2 separate regions of the Homo sapiens genome follow, and region 2 is linked to region 1. Evidence: promoter capture Hi-C in 16 types of primary human blood cells and fetal thymus (Javierre and others, 2016). All regions are on one chromosome and are shown on one strand. Each heading gives the region's core, a stretch centred on a gene start or on the middle of the fragment in contact. The rest is flanking DNA. Distances are from core to core; before and after follow the strand shown.

Region 1 (5,003 bases), core at 120-2,619:
CTCAGCTTTGATACACTTTTGCCCTGTATTCTCGGGTAAGTCACTTAACCTGGCAAAACCTCACTTTCCTAATTTCTAAAATGGAATAACAATACCTGTTTTGCAAGTTTGTTCTGAGAATGAAAGATACTATATCCGGTGTTTCGCACCTTTATAAAGCAGGAATGTCCTTAGGCTTGTGCACTTTTATAGTTCAGCCTTTCTTAGTGGGGACGTACTGCCCCCTAGGGGGAATTCTGGAAATATATGGGGGTGGGGAAGCTGTTTCCCCAAGATTCAGAGGCATGAGGTTTACAGGTGGTTGGGGCCTGAGATGGTAGGATTCTGCGATTCGAGAGACAGTCCCGCACAATAAAGGATTACCCCGCGGCCCTACAATCTTGGAGAGTCTTCCTATACATTCCTGTGCGTGGAAAAATCCGTTTGTGGCTAGAACCAAACTCTATTTTACATCGAAATGCTAAGTATTTTTGCAGTTTTAATGAACACTTCTTTTTTTTTTCGAGGAATGCAACTACATGTAAATCAAGGCTTGATTGCACTTCGGTTTGGAGGTTTACCAAGAATTGTTCACCATTTGGGAAAACCACGCGCTTCACTGGCCACGCTGCTCCTGGTCCCGGAGACCCAACAATCTGCATTTGCTGCCGTCACGTTCAGGCGACTCCCCAGGCGCGGCTACTGGCTACTTCTCTACATTTTCCAAGGGTAGTAGTGCCAAGCATTTTCAGATTGAAATATGTACTTTCTTACTTATTGCTTTCCTTCTATTTCCTCTTTATGCTACAGTTAGGGCATAATACAGTTTTGTTGTTGTTGTTAATGGGGTGAGCAGGGGGCTTGTTTTCGAATAATTTTACGTCAGGGTGGGAAGTCGGTACTGGGTTGCAGGGGGCTGGGAACCAGCTCCGCAGCCAGGAGAGGCTGCAGACACCGGAGGATCGGGTTCTGAGAGAGACGCATACGGACTTGGGGCCGGGGGTGACTCGCCGGGAACTGAGGGCCCGCGACCCTCCCGCCCAAGTGGCACCAAAGGGTGGAAGCCCCCAAATTAGGAAAATTCCTTCTCCCCTAGGGCCGCCCCTGGAAGCGGCCGCGGGTGAGTGGCAAGACGCTTACCCGTACCCGACCTCCGCGTGTGGAGCGTTGCCATAGAGACCGACGCGCCCTGGACGCTACACCCACACAGCCCAGGACGCTAGGCCTTTTCTGGGCCGCCCCCGCCGCCCCAGGCCGAAACTCCATCCCTTTCCCCCACCCTGCCGAGCTCCCGAAGCCCTGTGGCGGCTCCGGGCAAGAACTAAGGGCGGCCCCTGCAAGCGTACCTGCTCCGCCGGCTCCGCGGGGCCAACGAAGCGTCCCGGAAGGATCCGGGTTCCCGGGGCCGCTGCGCCTCCCTGCGGCCGGGGCGGAGCCGCGCAAGGAAACGCGGGCGGGGCGCGGGTCTGGAATGGCCTGGGGACCAGTCCACCTCGAGGCAGGGTCAGGCGCCAGGGAGTTTGGAGACCCGGCAGAGTCACCCCGCAACCGTCCCGTTGCCTTGGGTCGGGATTCCTTTGCTTTGCAGTCTACAGTAGCGCTCCCCGCTCTTGCTTAAGGTGCACCAGACGCTTCGCAAACGTTCTCTCTTTTCTTTACAACCCGTCAAGGCAGTAGTCTCCCAGTTTTACAAATGAGCTAAACTGATACAGGAAGAGTGTTTCTTGTACAAGGTCTCAAATATTGCCAAAAGGTGGACGTGAGACTGGAACGGCTTCCTACTCTTTGGGCCACAGCGGCGGCCTGCCAAGGGACTTTCTAACGAAACCGGCGCTGCCCAAGCGTCTGCACTCACGCCCAGTGCTCATCCCACCCTGCCCCATTCTGGATTTGCACATCAAGCTGCTGTCTAAAATGTTTAAGTAGTTGAAAAAAATGTAATTTTCAGCAATTGTAAATAGTGACGCAAGTTAAATATATCCAACTGAATCGAAACACTACAGTAATATGGTACCCTCCATCGTCCACCTCACACACACACACAAAAAAAACCCACAAAAAACTCTTAAAAATCCTAAGTTTACATCATTACTCTTCCTTCTTAAAATCATCTCTCCGCCGCCCCCTCCCCGTCCCTGCCACAAAAAATTTCTTCTTCTTGTAAGCACTCTAGTCAAGTTGGATTAGGGCTGAACTAAAGGCCTCATTTTGATCTAATTGCATCTTTAAAGTCTCTGTCTCCGAATATAGTCTCATTATTAGTTATTGGTGTTAGATTTCAGTGTGTGAATTGGGGGTGGCCGCGGCGGGGGTGAATGCAGCCCGTAGCAGGAGTCCAAAAGTTGTTTAGCAGTTGGAATATCCAATGTTAGTTTCTTTGGCAGTGAAATTCCCTCAAAATATTAGTAGGTATATGATCTACTTGTTTTTGTTTAATTACACGTGTCAGTGACCACACCCAAATTTCTTCCCTAGAATTCTTAGACATGCTTCATTAAATCATATCTTCATTCTACTTTCCTGATAGAATTTTACCCGTTATCTTTTTCATACTTGAAAGTCTTATTGATCATCCTATCATACTGCTGAAAGAAGTACAGAAATGGAAATTTATATTTCCTGCTCATAGAATTTTAGTTTTTCTGGATTAAATTGTTAAAATTACTAGTACTACACAATTGATCACAATAAAATGTATCACAATACTGATAATTATTAAATATAAAAAATAAAATTGTATTGAAAATTCATCTCTTTAAGACCTGGATGGGCTTCCCATGCACCGTTAGTTCCTGTATCCATAGATGAATGCTAACTTCTTGCTACAATGAAGTTTAACACTGATTCTCTTCCATTTTCTTAAGGCTGTAAGTGCTGAGAAATAAGTACATAGGAATGAAAAGTTTTGTTAAAAGTGTCCCTCAATTTTTGTCTAGTTGTATCTCAAGAATCATATAGTAATCTGTCACCAAAACTGGTTTATAATCATGAACTGATAATTCCATTAGTCTTCTGAAATTTTATTAAAAGCAAAACCCCATAAGCCATTCTGATTTTGAAAAGGATTTATTATCCAATACTTATCCAGTCTCTCAGTAACTGTACATAATTTCAAGTTTTTTTTGTTTGATGGTTTTGAAATGTTTATGCCCTTGGGCAATGCCAAGATTGAAGATGACTAAGAGGTATGGAATACAGTATATATGGAAGCTGAGTACCTGGAAATGTCCTTAAAACTATCCATGCCTGCTTTAACTTGAAAAATCTTCAAGAGAGTAGTAAGCTAATTTCAAAGAGCTAACCCAAGTAATTTTGGGAAATGGTATTTGACTGGAAACTATGAGACAATAGGAAAGATACATAAACTCTGTACCTTAGTTGGTAAATTTGTTTCTCCCAGGGGTATGGGTTAATGATTTGGAAACTGCTTTACAAATAGACTAGGATTGAACAGCTAAGCAGATGGCGGATGGTACAAGCCAGTTTTCTCATTGTCAGGGAGAGAAGTTACAGAAAAGCGTGAGAAGAAGGCTAGAATGAACCTTGTAGTACTGGGTTAGTTGGAGACATCAGTATGGACCCATGCTTAATTTAATGTATGTACAGATGGAGAGATACAGAAATAACTGTAGAGATGTCTGGATGGATATACAATTATACAGTGTATACAGGTTAGTATACACATATATACTTCCTAGCTCTGTCTGCTGAGAGGGCCTAGAAGCAGTGACACCCCAGGAGCAATAAGCACACCCAGCACCCAGATCTTGGTTTCTAAACCAGTGGGAACCTTGTTGAAATGGATGATTTTGGGGCTGGGGCAGAGAAGATAAAGATGAGTCTGGACCATCTTGTAGTGCCAGAAAGGAAGTGCTCCAAAAGAACCAGCGCACCTCAAAGGGACACAGGAGGTGACCTGAAACAATTCCCAACGGCCAAAGCTAGAACAATTTAAGCAAGAAAACAAACGACTTATTATTGGATTATACTCCCACCCCCAGAGGTGGAGATTAATTCCTTTGCATTTGACTATGAGCTGGAGTGTGTGACTCACTTATAGTGAACACAGCATGAACATGGAAAATTATGAAGTTGATAGTGAAGAGCCTGGCAGACACTGCCTTCATCAAGTGATCAAGGTGAACGACACCAGGAAGAAGTCATGCTGATGCTCCCTGAAATGATGTGATGAGAAGGGCACTTCACCTTTGTGATTTTCCCCAAAATCCATAAGCTTAGTCCAATTGTGAGACAAACCCAAATTGAGCAACAGTCTACAAAATACCTAAGCAGTACTCAAAAATGTCAAGGTCCCGAAAAACAAGGAAAGATTTAGAGACTGCCAGAGACCACTGGAGATGAAAGATATCTAAATGTAAATACAGCGTATGTGTGAGGTGGAGGGTTGGTTCTATACCACAGGTTTTACATGTTAAGATTTAAAAACTGTTAAATCTTTAAAAGATGTATATATTCCAGATTTCAGCAACTGCTTGTTAATGACCCTAAATGTATTTTCCCCCTACTCTTCACTTTAGCACCGTTCCCTGTATTTGGCTGGCTCACGTCTCTTTGAGAGGTGTTGAGCGAAGCCTGTTTCTTTAGTGAAATATTCTCATCTCACTGAAGTGCACACTATTAGATGAGGTTCACACACGACAGGACCCAGCACGTGTGCGCCATGCCTCCTCCTATTCGTTCCACATCACTCTCTAGTTTCTGATATTTACCATTAACTGCTCCTCACCTCTGGCCTCTTCCTTCCTCATCTACAGGACTGCCATCTTCTGACAAGATCTGCAGACCACCCCAAGCTTCCCAGGGCTGACCCTCCAACCCAGGCTCTTTTGTGCATCCTATGAGGGACTGTATTTAAGGACAGCTGGTAGTTGGTGAAGATCATTGGAATGATCTTCAAACTACTCAGAATCAGGTCATATTGAAAAACTGCACACATTACTAAATCATAATTAAATATATTTAATTCTCAAACCTTTAGGAAATGTAAAAAGAGTCACATAATA
Region 2 (6,465 bases), core at 764-3,263, 150 kb before region 1:
TAACAAGCAAAATCTTCCTTTCACAGGCTCCCAGCCTACAGCTGTCTTAACTAGATATACTTTTTACACCAGAACTTCCATGTGCTTCAGAAATTTGGGAACAGGCCTTTATACATGATACATCATAAAAAAGCACATTTCTCTCTACTTGTACACAATCCTGCTTGTCTTCAGATGAATCTCCTTTACATGGAATGATCTTCTCCTTTTTCCTGTGCATAAAATGCAGACCTTGCCAACCGGCTTTTGAGCAGCTTAACAACACAAATGTTTAAATAACTTGTAAAATGCAGACTATATAAATGTTGATTTCTATATCCACAAAGGTTTGGGATTAATAATTACATAGAATTTTAAATATTCACTGTAGCATTTCCTAAGAGAAAAAAGGGAATAATTAAGTAATTTGGGGGACAGCAGTTCAAAAGATATTGCTGAATCCAGTAAATACATGAATGTTTAATGATGTTAAGGATGGTGATACATTCTGAGAAATGAGTCATCATTGTGACTTCATCGTTGTGTGACCATCATAGAGTCACTTACACACACCTAGCTGATGTAGCCTACCAAACACCTGAGCTGTATGGTGTAGCCTGTTGCTCCTAGGCCACACACCTGTACAGCATGTTACTGTACTGAATACTGTAGGCAATTGTAACACAATGGTAAGTACTTGTGTATCTAAACATATCTGAACATAGAAAAGGTACAGTAAAAACACAATATAAAAGATTAAAAAATGGTGCACCTGTATGGGGCACTTATCATGAATGGAGCTTGCAGGACTGGAAGTTGCTCTGGGTGAGTCGGTGAATGAGTGTTGAGTAGATGTGAAGACTTAGGACACTGCACTACTGTCGATTTTATAAACACTGTAAACTTAGGCTACACTAAATTTATAAAAAATAGTTTTATTTCTTCAACAATAAATCAACATAGCCAGACAGTGGCTCATTGTAATCTCAATGCTTTGGGAGGCCGAGGCAGGAGGACTGCTTGAGCCCAGGAGTTCAAGGTTACAGTGAGCTATGATTGCACCACTGTACTCTAGCCTGGGAGACAAAACAAGACCCTGTCTCTGAAACAATAATAATAATTTATTAATTAACCTCAGCTTGCTGTAACTTTTTTACTTCATAAACGTTTAATTTTTTTTTTTTTTACTTTCGACTCTTTTGTAATAACACTTAGCTTAAAGCACAAACACACTGGACAGCTTTATCAAATATTTTCTTTATATACTTATCCTATAAGCTTTTAAAATTTTTTTATTTTTAAACTGTTTAAGCATTTTTGTTAAAAACTAAGACACAAACACATACATTAGCCTCGGCCTACACATGGTCAGGATCATCAGTATAACTGTCTTCCATCTCTACATCTTCTCCCACTGGAAGGTCTTCAGGTGCGATAACAGGCATGGAGCTGTCATCTCCTATAATAACAATGCCTTCTTCTGGATACCTCCTAGGACCTGCCTGAGGCTACTTTACAGTTAACTTTTTCTTTTTATAAGTAGAAGGAGTACACTCTAAAATAACAATAGAGTATAGTAAATACATAAACCAGTAACATAGTCATTTATTATCGAGTATTATGTACTGTACAGAATTGTATGTGCTCTATTTTTATATGACTGGCAGTACAGTAAGTTGGTTTACACCAGCTCACCAAAAATACATGAGTAATGCATTACTATGACATTACAACAGCTGCGAGATCACTAGGCAATAGGAATTTTTCAGTTTCATTGTAATATCATGGGACCAGTGTCATATGTGCAGTCCATCATTGACTAAAGCATCATGACTGTATAGTAAGGATGACATGGTATAACAATATTAACAGACAAATGACTAGCCACCTCGGACACCTACCTGGAAACGTCTACGTCAAAAGACATTTCAGGCAGATCAAAGATTAACATGTAAAAAAGAAATAACAAAAACACTAGAAGAAAACACAGGAGAATATCTACAATAATCTTAAAGTGAGAAAAGCCTAAATATGACCAACAAACCAGAACAAAACCAAGAAAATCCAAAAGCTATAAAAGATTTGACATAACTAAACACAATAAGGACAAAAAATTATTCAAATGAAGTCAAAAGATAAAAAACTGGGGGAAAAAAGATTTGCTTCACATAGCATACATTAAGAGTTAATTTCTTTAAATACAGAGAGTTCCTCCAAAAAAGAAAAAGGCCAACAATCCAAACAAAAAAGAAGACAGTTCATCAAAAAAGAAATGCATATGGTTTTTAAAATACATGGGAAAATATTAAAAAGAAATGTAACATTCCAACCACACTGGCACAGTCTTCCTACATTGCTAGTGGGAGTGTAACCTCTCTGGAGGGCAATTTGCAATACCTATTAAAATTACAAATTTACGTACTCTTTTACTCAGCAACTCTACTTCTAAGAATTTACCCAATAAATATATTTGTTCATGTGCAAAACAAAGCATGCCATGGAGATATTAAATGCTGAGAAAGATTAGAAACATCAATGTCCATCAATAAGAGGCTAGTTAATTACTGTACAGCCATAAATGGAATATTATTCAGCTCTTAAAATGAATGATGTGACTCTGTATGTAATGAAATAAGCTGATATCTAATATACTGCTCAGCAACAAAAGCAAGGCACAGAAAATATCATATATATAGCATGTGTTTGTTATCTGTTGCTACATGACAAACCAACTTTAGTACATTACTAGCAACAGCTCACAATTTTTCAATTCGGACAGGGCTTGGCAGGGAAAGCTTGTCTCTTCTCCACATAGCACCACTGGGGGTGGCCTGAATGGGGCTGGCAGTTCCACTTCCAAGAAGATAGTTCATTCATCACATGGCTGCCAAGTGGATGCTTGCTGCCGGCTAGGGGCTCAGATGAGGCTGTTGGCAGGGACCCGGTTCTCTTCCATGTGGCTTCTCTTTATGACTAGGTGGGGACCTCACAGCTGGGGGCTTCTGGGTACTGAGAGGGAGTGTCACAATAGCAAGCACTCCTCTAGAACACATTTCAAAGTGCAAGCTCTTATCAAACCTCTGCTTGCATCACACTTGCTAACACCCATTGGCCAAAACCAGTCACACGGCCAAGCACAGTCAATATGGGCAGGAATTACACGGAGCTTGAATACAAGGGTGTGTAGTTCACTGAGAGGGCTACAATTCTGTCATGGTGCTAGGACTACCTGTGTGAAACAAGAGAATATCATACAAATGGATGCTTGTATAGGCATGGATTATCTCTGGGACAGTGCAAAAGCTAGTACAGAATTTGAGGAAGATTAGGCAGCTGAAGGGGACCAGGTGGCTGGGATACAGAGAATTACTTTCACTATATAATTTAACTGTACAATACACACATTACCAAAATCTAAAAATTAATTTAAAATTAAAATAACATGAGCACAAAGAAGACTCAGAACAGTGACTTGATTGTAGTTGGTGTTAATTAAATACTTCTTTAATTAAAAAAGAACCAAGGATAAAAGAAAAACTAAGAAGATATTCAAAGACATTCATTTTCATATAGTACCTTATTAGGCAAAAACCTCTTCCTCATAATAAGAAAGACATAACCCTCAACCATCTAGTTTGTTGGAAAAACAAATCCCTCATGATAACCCAGTTTACATTTTTTGGTCCTCGCTCCAACTACAACTTTACAAACCCCAAACCATAACAGCAGCCCTTAATTTCTAGAATGTTGATTCTATGTTTCTGCCAAAAGGGTTTGCAGTAGTACTGAAAGCAATTTCTTATTATCAAACACTACTCAGAGGCCCCCCTTTCTAGACAGGCAGGTTTTTAAGGCCAAGCAGTTACAGAAGACAAAGCCTTGCAAATAACATATCTCTACAAAACACTAAAGTATCTGTTGGTCTAGGAACAACCTCATTAAACAACTGGTAGTGTTTGGATAGTTTTAAGTGTAGACACAGGGCATATGCATGCTTTTAATTCAGTTCTTCAATTAAGATGATCCTTGGGGGAAAAAACTCTCCTGATGAGTTTTAAAAAACAAACACAGGTTTAGATTTAAGGGCCCATCAAAGAGTCACAGAAATGGAGAGCAGGCCAAGGTTCCACATGGATATCCCAGAAAGCCTTGTGAAAGCCCTAGTTTATCTAATTCCCACTAGATTCTGCACTCCTTACGGACAGACATTTGGGACATTTTCTGCAGACCCAACACCAGGCTTTAGAATGACTTTTTCTAGCTTTTGAATTTTTGATAAATGATGGTAGACGTCAGGATGAGAAAGGACTGGAAGCAGAGGAGGCCACAGAAGGGAGTCCAAAAGTGAATTTCAATTCTCTGCTACCTCTCTAGGTACCCAAGTCACACGAAATTTGCTGAGAGTGCCAGGGCTTTTAAAATAAAATATAGGTTAAAAAAATAACTACTGATTCACCAAGATGAAGCCAGAAAGGAAAACAAAATCTCTGGATAAGCCATTCTGATATGAAGAAATCAGAAACTGGGTGGCATGTTTTCATGAAGGCTTTCAAAGCCAATCTGATAGTGAAAAAGCAGAAACAACATGCTTTGTTAGAAAGTGGCTGTGATCACAAATCAAAAAATACTAACTCATGTACAAGTGAAGGACCACTGGCCACTTTGGAGGTCTCTTGATCACTCTTGGATTCCCATCAACCTTAAATAGGATACCAGTCAGTCCCCTGCTGCCTATCCTCAAGAATTCTTTCACTTTGAAGGATGTATAACACCCATAACAACTTATGAGGCAAACATGTTATACATGAAGGCAACTTTTCCAATATATCACCTCCCCCCATACAACTTAACACATCTGAACTTTCATGGGATTCAAAATACAAAAAAGTCCGGATTCTTTCATATGCACGCAGATCCAATAATAACAAATAATTAATGATTCTGAGTGTTATTTTATGAGGATGGCATTTTATATCCCTCATGCTTAGGGCAATTCTAGAAGGAGATATTATCACCATTTCACTGTTGAAACTGACTCAGAAGCTTATCCAAGAGCACAAATCAACATTAAGTAACAGAGCTGGGATTTAAACGCTGCTGAGAAATCCGAGAGGCTCTGTATTTTTTAAAAACAACTTTTAGAGTAACCTTTTCTTTTCAGCCATGTTAATTATAGGAAGAGACTACAATGCAGAAAAGTGAAATGAAAATAAACAGCCATACCTGCAAGCAGCAAGCCAGGCTAACACACAAGAGAGCTGAGCTGCCTGAGCCCTGGCTTCACCCACTAGTATCTGTCACCTCAGGAAAACTACAGCAAAATATCCACACTCGCTCCACTTTCCTCAATATCCCTAATCAAGGCAACCACACTTACAGGAGAAGGCACACAAGACACAAGTCAGAGAAGACAACAGCTCTGGACCACGTACATCCTGAATATCTGGAATGAGTACTGCCTTGCTCGGCCTTATCTAAGAATTCTCTGGATGCCACAAATTCACAGGGGAGGGCACAGGTCAAAAATGATGCCTGACTCAAGAAAGGATCTCACCCAAACCATCCCAGGCATCCAGGCCAGTGGGGGTTGGTCTCTAAAACCCCCACTGAGGAAGAATCAATGTCCCATATTAACCTCTATGAACATTAAGTATACAGGGGGATAAACGTAAATATCAGTAGAGAAAATTCAGGTTATCTTTTGGTGAGTTATGAAATACTGATTTTTAAAAATATCTGTACATAGTTCCAATTTTTCAAACTTAAATTAAAAAAACAAGTGTTACTTTCACAAGCAGAAAATAAATGTGATTTTCCCGTTTGTCTAAGGCAAGCCTGTCCAACCCATGGCCTGCAAGCCACATGCAGCCCAGGATGGCTTTGAATACGGCCCAACACAAATTTGTAAACTTTCTTAAAACATAATGAGATTTTTTTGGGTGTGAATTTTTTTTTTTTTTTTTTAGCTCATCATCTATTATTAGTGTTAGCGTATTTTATGTGTGGCCGAAGACACATTCTTCTTCTAATGTGGCCCAGGAAAGTCAAAAGTTTGGACACCCCTGCTCTAAGGCAAGGAAGAAAATGTTTTGTTAAACCATTCTAATTTGGGCAACAATATTATTGACTGTGATAAAGATAACAACAATGATGAATTGATGACACTTTTGTAAATTGCTTTATAGTTCAAAGAGCATTTTCACATATATTTGTTTAAATATCTGTCTTTCCTACTTCTGAATTTCTTGAGGGTATGTCTGAGAGTTTTAAGTATGAATTCCAGCATTATCTGAGCAAATCCAGGCCTCAGTTTCCTTTAGGTATAAAGGTTTGTGTTTTGGATAGTTTTAAGTGTAGACACAGGGCACATGTATGCTTTTAATTCAGTTCTTCAATTAAGATGATCTTTGGAGGAAAAAACTCTCCTGATGAGTTTTAAAAAACAAACACAGGTTTAGATACAAGAAAGCTCCGGCTGGCATCTGG

What was found. Contacts are between HindIII fragments. The CHiCAGO score rates a contact against its expected background, and 5 or more counts as called.
Region 2: a contact is called between a fragment that was not itself captured here and the fragment with the promoter of NEK5 in region 1, in 5 of 17 cell types (megakaryocytes, erythroblasts, M0 macrophages and 2 more). The highest score is 6.6, in megakaryocytes.

The regions. Positions count from the first base shown.
Region 1 is chr13:52,127,704-52,132,706 of GRCh38, forward strand. It overlaps NEK5 (NIMA related kinase 5), which reads right to left and starts at 1,370. Exons shown (of 24, transcript NM_001365552.1): 1 at 1,326-1,370. It overlaps LOC101929657 (a long non-coding RNA gene), which reads left to right and starts at 1,192. Exons shown (of 2, transcript NR_110306.1): 1 at 1,192-4,354; 2 at 4,755-5,003. NEK3 (NIMA related kinase 3) reads right to left here. Exons shown (of 16, transcript NM_002498.3): 16 at 4,944-5,003. RefSeq lists an enhancer at 4,648-5,003. The HindIII fragment of the contact is 11,669 bases long and covers 1-4,211 here.
Region 2 is chr13:51,976,081-51,982,545 of GRCh38, forward strand. All of the region lies in intron 1 of ATP7B (ATPase copper transporting beta), which reads right to left. Among named protein-coding and RNA genes, the nearest start is that of ATP7B, 32 kb to the right of the region's middle. The HindIII fragment of the contact is 1,517 bases long and covers 1,256-2,772 here.